2 separate regions of the Homo sapiens genome follow, and region 2 is linked to region 1. The links are contacts of gene promoters, found by promoter capture Hi-C in blood cells and fetal thymus (Javierre and others, 2016). All regions are on one chromosome and are shown on one strand. Each heading gives the region's core, a stretch centred on a gene start or on the middle of the fragment in contact. The rest is flanking DNA. Distances are from core to core; before and after follow the strand shown.

Region 1 (3,197 bases), core at 277-2,776:
GGAAAGTCAATACCCTGTAGTCACTGAAAGCAGGTGACCTCTCCCTCTGCCTCACTGAAAGCAGGTGACCCCTCCCTCCGGCCTCTCAGGCAGGACCTGTGTACCTGTGTTGGGGCCTGGGCCAGTCTGTCCAGGCTCCCAGGGGTCAGATGTTGGGCAAAGGAACTTGGGAGGCCTGTACTTCCTTTCATCTGTAGTTGGAAAACTGAAGCCCAGAGAGGGAAGTGACCTGTCCAGGGTCACACAGCAGACTGAGAACAGAATCTGGCCCCTCACTCCTCACCATTCAGTATGTGCTGGGCATTTGCTGCAGCTAGGGGCTCTGCTGGGCCCTGGGTTCACAGGCACGAGCAAGGTAGGCAGGCCCAGCAGTCACGACATTCACAGGAGGGAGGCAGGGATGAATACATAAATCTGCGAAGGAGCATGGAAGTTTCTAGTAGTGGTTCTCTGCTAAGACGTAAAACCCAGGGAGAGGTAGAGTGAGGAGGCTTTTCTGAGAAGGTGATGTTTCAGCTGAGATGCAGATGCCAGGAAGGAGCCAGCCATGGAAGAATGTAGGGGGAGAGCAGCTATGAGTGAGCAGAACCCCAGAGTGGAGGGAACTTGGTGTTTGGGGAAGAACAAAAAGGAGGCCGATGTGGCATCAGGAATGAGAGTGGGGTGGTCGGCAAGTGTGGGACCACGCCCTTAGGTTGCGTGGTTCTGCCCAGATGGTTGGGTGGGTGACTGCTGGATTCTGACCTCTGTTTTAAGAAGTTAATTCTGGCTTCTGGGAGGGACTGCCCATGGGCAGGGAGGAAGAGGGCAATGAAACCAGGAGGTGACTGCAGGGTCGCAGGCGAGAGGAGATGGTGCTGGCCTAGCCTGGGAGCTTGGGGCTGGGGAGAGGTCCATGGGGCTGGAGGTTGGAGCTGGTGAGAAGGGGGTTGAGGGAACGAGAGAGATCAGGGATGCATCTTAGACTTTTGGTTTCAGGAACTAAGGATTTGGCGGTGTCACTTCTGAGGTGGAGGTTTTGGCGGGTGACCATCAAGCCTCCCGTTTTTGGACCAGTTGGGTTCAAGATGCCCATTTAACATCCAAGGAGAGGTACCGAGGAGGCCGTGGGATACCTGGTGATTGGAGCTTGGGGTTCAAGGAGCAGTTGGGCAAGAAACAGAGAGAGAGAGCGAGTCAAGACTTCTCAGGAAGTAGCCACGGACATTGCCCGGGACTCTCGGGCAAGGCTCCTCAATACACAGGGCTGGCGGTGGCTTCCCAGGAAGGCTGGGAGGAAGAGGAGTTCATGGGAAGGCAGCAGGGACCCCCAGATGGAGGGGCAGGTGCCCATGCCCCGCCGGCTCCTCTCCCTCAGTTCAGAGCCTGTCCTGTCGGGGGGTGTCAGCGGCCCTGACTCTCCACTCCCCTACAGTCCCCCCAGAAGCTGAGTTGCAGCGGTGACAGAGAACAAGCGGACTTTGTTACCTTGGCAGTTTCTCTCAAGTCTGCTCCTCATAAAAGCTCAGCTGGAACAGTGGAAATTCTGACTTGTGTCAGATACCGGAGAGGCTTTAATAGTTTCAAGTAGCTCGGGGTTAGATTGTAAAAGCCGAATTTCATCACATGTTTTAACTTGGGTGGGGGCGGGCGGGGGAGAGTGGAAGGGACGTGATATTTTTAGCCCACAGAAGGCTTTTTCTCCCCTTTCCCCTTCTCTCCCGGGGCTTCCCCCTCCCTCCCTGAACAGATGTTTCGTCTCAATCCTGTTCAGATGTCAAAGCCGAGTGGCCACCAGCCTTATGCTCTGATGAGGAAAAAAAGGCCAGAATGTTATTTGTTGAGAAGGATTTCCTCCCCTACCCGCTTTTCCCCCTTTTTTGTTTCCCCTCAGTTACAATTGGTCCATAAGCAAAATCTAGTGGCAGTAAAATGCAGCTGGGAGGCAGGATGGTGGAGAAGAAGTCCCTGGTGGCATTTCTGGTCTCAGGAAGGGGCAGACACCCACAGGTGAAAAAGCTGGAAATCACCCTAGAGGGACTGCCCTGGGTGAGTGAATTACTGCTGTGGTGCTGGTGCTGGTGGTTTTTCCTAAAAAGCAGGATCTCAGAGAGACGGATTTGTTAAGTCAGGATTCTTTCGGTTCTTTTGGAAACTCACTTAAACTTTTGGCTCATGAAATTGAAAAATCCTAGGGTAGATCTTGCCTAAAAAGGCCTGTTTGGATTCTGGAGCTAAAACCATGTCATGGACACATGCACGCACACACACACACTCACACACACACGTATACTCACACATTCACACACATGTCTCGCTCGCTGCCCCTCTCTCTCCCTCTCCATCATCTCTCCCTCTGTCCCCTGGTGGCTTCTCCCCCACAGGGGGCAAGGGTGGCAGTTCCCAGCTCTGGGCACTCCCATCCTATGAGCACAGCCCTGTCAGGTGGAAGAAAGTTCCCAGGTCACAGGGGTTCTTGCACATGTTGGACTCACTTTATTGACCACTTTACTGGTCACTTGACCAGGGTAGATCTAGGTTTTATGGGACCTGAAGCTTTCTGGGGCCAAACCAAAATAAATATCTCACCAACTCAGTCTCTCCTTAGCTCATGTCCAGAAATGCCTGTATTTCCCCTAGTATCACCTCACACAGGCAAAGGATGTCAGAATGGTTAGATGACAATCTTAATAGATTGAGGATAAAATGCCTAATTTGGAAAATGTTACAAATACAAACACATATGACCACATAAACACCTTGCAAAGACCCATCCTGACTTGGAAAGGGCCCGTGTAGGTGAGAGGGCCCAGAAGCCTAGCTTCATTAGCTTCTTCATAAACTCTTCTTTCATACTGACCTAGGACCAGCCACGTGGCCTTCAGGATGAAACAAGCTGGGTCAGGTAGGGGTACTGAGTGCAGTGTGACCCTGGAGTGGGATCAGTCTCCATAAACTAGATAGACTGAGAGTGGGGGATGAGTAGCTCTGGGGAGGAAAGCCAGATGCTATCATCAGAAGGAGGAGAAGGATTGCTGGACAGGCAGGAACAGGTGTCAGCTATTGTGGTCTGAGAGAGTGGACAGGCCAGTGGTTGAGGAGTTGGGAAACTGGGATTTAGTTCTCTTTGTTCCACAACTTCTGGGTTCAAATCCTGGTTCTGCTACTTACCGTTGTTTCATTTTGATGATGCTGCTGATGATGCAGCACCTATAGTG
Region 2 (3,197 bases), core at 449-2,948, 110 kb before region 1:
CTCCATCACTTCAACTCAAAGCCTCCATGTTCACTGTGGCAGAGGAAGAAATTAACTAAATAATTGGCCAGAACATTTCTGCTCTCAGTTAACTAGCCAAGACTAGCCCATGGTTCCACCTCACAGCAAGGGTACTGGGATATATAGTTTTCTGTATGTCCAGGAAGGAAAACTGAGCCTGATGTTGCAGAGCATTGTAACGTCAACCACAGTGTTTAATCAACATTAGTTTCCTGCCTTTATTTTCCACCCCCAAAGAGTTTAGAACCTATTTGAGGTGACAAGCATGTATAGATGAAAAGATCAACATATTTTCCTTTATTCCTTAGAAGCATGCCATCCTTTGCATCATACAGAAGGCTTTTTCAGCCTCATTTCCACAGTACCCTCGGCAGCATTTTCCTTCTGGAACCCTAGGGAAGGGAAGACAGGGAATACAGTGATGGAGGCCTAATCAATGACTTGACAGGCAAGTGTCAGAACAGGCTGGCTTTTCAGAGAATGGCCAACTGCCCCAAGCCTCCAAGGAGGATAGAACATGAGGCGGGTACCTCCAGGGTTCCTTGTGGACAGAAAAAACAATGACAACCTCTCCCGTCCATTGAATGTTTACTGTGTGCCAGACATCATGCTAAATGCTTCATGTGTCATCACTGAGGTGGTTATTATTAGCACCCCAATTTAACCAATGAGAAAATTGAGGCTCAGAGAGGAAAACTACCCTGCCAAAGTCATGCAGTGACAACCCAGGGAGGGAGGGTGGAAGGGCGGGGCAGAGGGAGTGGGACAGTCACAGTCTCTGGCTTAAGGAGGGGGTCAGGGATGCCTGGGTCCTCTCTCGTCCTTTCTGCTCATGCTGTAGCTGAACAGGCAAAGCAGAGGGAGTTGTTTGCAAAGCACCAAATGTGATAATATTCGAGAGGCCCTGCAAAACTCCAGGGTACTCACAGATAAAAAGCAGGATTTAACTTTTCAGGGTGGAAGCAAATATTTGCACCATTTATTTATTTATTTGTTTTGGTTTTGTTTTTTTGAGACTGGGTCTTGCTCTGTTGCCCAAGCTGGAGTGCAGTGGTGCAATCATGCATGGCTTATTGCAACCTCGACCTCCCAGGCTCAAGTGATTCTCCCACTTCAGCCTCCCTAGTAACTAGGACTACTGGTGCACACCACCAAGCCTGGCTAAATTTTTTTTTTTTTTTGAGACATAGTCTCACTCTGTGGCCCAAGCTGGAGTGCAGTGGCACAATCTCAGCTCGCTGCAACCTTCGCCTCCCAGGCACAAACAATTATCGTGCCTCAGCCTCCCCAGTAGCTGGGACTACAGGCGCGCACCACCGTGCCAAGCTAATTTTTTGTATTTTAGTAGAGACAGGGTTTCACCCTTGTTACCCAGGGTGATCTCAAAATCCTGAGCTCAGGCAATCCTCCCGCCTTGGCCTCCCAAAGTGCTGGGATTACAGGTGTGGGCCACCGCGCCCAGCCCTAATTTTTAAACATTTTTTGTAGGGGGGTGGGGCCTTGCTGTTACCCAGGCTGGTTTCAAACTCCTGTGCTCAAATGATCCTCCCATCTTAGCCTCCCAAAGCGCTGGGATTACAGGTGTGGGCCACCGTGCCCAGCCTCATTTGCACCTTTTGGAGAGAAGAAAGTTGAGGAGGAAGGAAAGGATTCTGCAGGTGGAGAGAAGGGTCTCTTCTTCCATGTAGGCTGGCCAAGATCAGGAACAAAGTCCCTTTTCCTTCTAAGTTGGGAAGTTGAGACCCAGGGCAGGGCAGGTTTTGCCCAGAGCTACACAGCCAGAAAGTGGCAGAAGCAGATGAGGACCTGGGTCTCCTGATGCCCTGTTTCCCCCAACACCAGTCCCCTCCACTGCTGCCTCTGGGACTGACAGAGAAAGGGAGGTCTATGGGCACAAAGTCAGCAAGCAGCTGCCATGAGCCCTGTGTGCAGGCAGCGCTGGCCCAGTGCTGGGGAGTTGCTGTCCCCTCTCCTCTAGGCCAGCCTGGTCTGTCTTTGTAAGCCTGGAGCAGCAGGAAGTGAGTAGGAGTAGTTACACCCCCACTGCACTTCGGTCTCTAAAAGTGTCCCATTTTCCCTAAAGGTGATAGGTAATATATGTTCATGGTGTCTATTAGGATTCTGATAAGATGGCAGAAAAATCAAGATCAAGAGAAGGTGAACAAATGGGAGATAGGTTTCGCTTTGCGTTTACTACCCCACCCCTGCCAAGCAATGCAGCAGGCCTGCCCAGTAGCTCCCAGTCTCACCCTCCTGACATTCAAATAGCACTTGCTCCCTAGTATGGATGTGACCTGTTCCCCAATCCCAGAACTTGATTTTGCCAGGAACTGAGATATGGAATCTTCACACTTGGATAGGCTGCTTGCAGGTGGAAGTGTGGGTGAGTTTTGCATCCCTGGATGTGCACAAGCTGGGGATGGTACAGATGTGGCATGCTGCAGGGGGGTGTTGCATGATGCGTGGGATGCTGGCTGCTCTCTCTTTGTCCCTCCAGACCCTGCTCCATGCCAGAGACAGCTCAGTCCCTTAACCTGCATCTTTCAGAAAATAGGACACTTTTGAAGACCAAAGTGCAGTGGAAGTATCACTACCCCTACTCCCTCCCTGCTGCTCCAGACTTGCAGAGACACACCAGGCTGACCTGGAGGAGAAGGGCCAGCAACTCCCCAGCACTGGGCCAGTGCTGTCTGCATACAGGGCTCATGGAAGCTGCTTGTTTGACTTTCATCTTCCTTGTCCTCCGGCTTTTGCTTGGGTTTGGCCAATAGGAGGCACCGCTGGGAGATGGGAAGGAGGTAGGAGAGAGCAGTGGAGCCATACATTTTCTAGTCCTCTCCCTGCCAGGCCACACTTTGGTGGGTGCAGTCTTTCTCCCCTGAAAAGCCACAGCTCTTATCAAGTGGACCTCTCACCCATCACCCTCTCTGGGCTCTGATCACTGCTTGGTCCCCTTGTCTTTCGGGTCTAGTGGCTGTAAGGGCTTCCCATGGTGCTAGTTCCCCGGATGCCCCACCTCCCCTTCTGGTTCCCTGCCCGCATAAATACCCCCATCATTAAACTCTCCTCAGTTACCCTTGGGAAGGTGCCATCTGTCCATCTGTTTCCTGCCAGGCCTGACTGATACAAACAGGAAGGATGGGACCTTGACCTCCTGGTCCTAGTCTTTCCTAGAT

Evidence for each region. Contacts are between HindIII fragments. The CHiCAGO score rates a contact against its expected background, and 5 or more counts as called.
Region 2: a contact is called between a fragment that was not itself captured here and the fragment with the promoter of NKD1-AS1 in region 1, in 5 of 17 cell types (total CD8 T cells, non-activated CD4 T cells, naive CD8 T cells and 2 more). The highest score is 7.1, in total CD8 T cells.

Annotation. Positions count from the first base shown.
Region 1 is chr16:50,612,124-50,615,320 of GRCh38, forward strand. It overlaps NKD1-AS1 (NKD1 antisense RNA 1), which reads right to left and starts at 1,527. Exons shown (of 3, transcript XR_007065197.1): 1 at 1,468-1,527. All of the region lies in intron 4 of NKD1 (NKD inhibitor of Wnt signaling pathway 1), which reads left to right. The HindIII fragment of the contact is 2,641 bases long and covers 1-2,533 here.
Region 2 is chr16:50,499,557-50,502,753 of GRCh38, forward strand. No RefSeq gene overlaps it. Among named protein-coding and RNA genes, the nearest start is that of NKD1, 47 kb to the right of the region's middle. The HindIII fragment of the contact is 3,556 bases long and covers 1-3,197 here.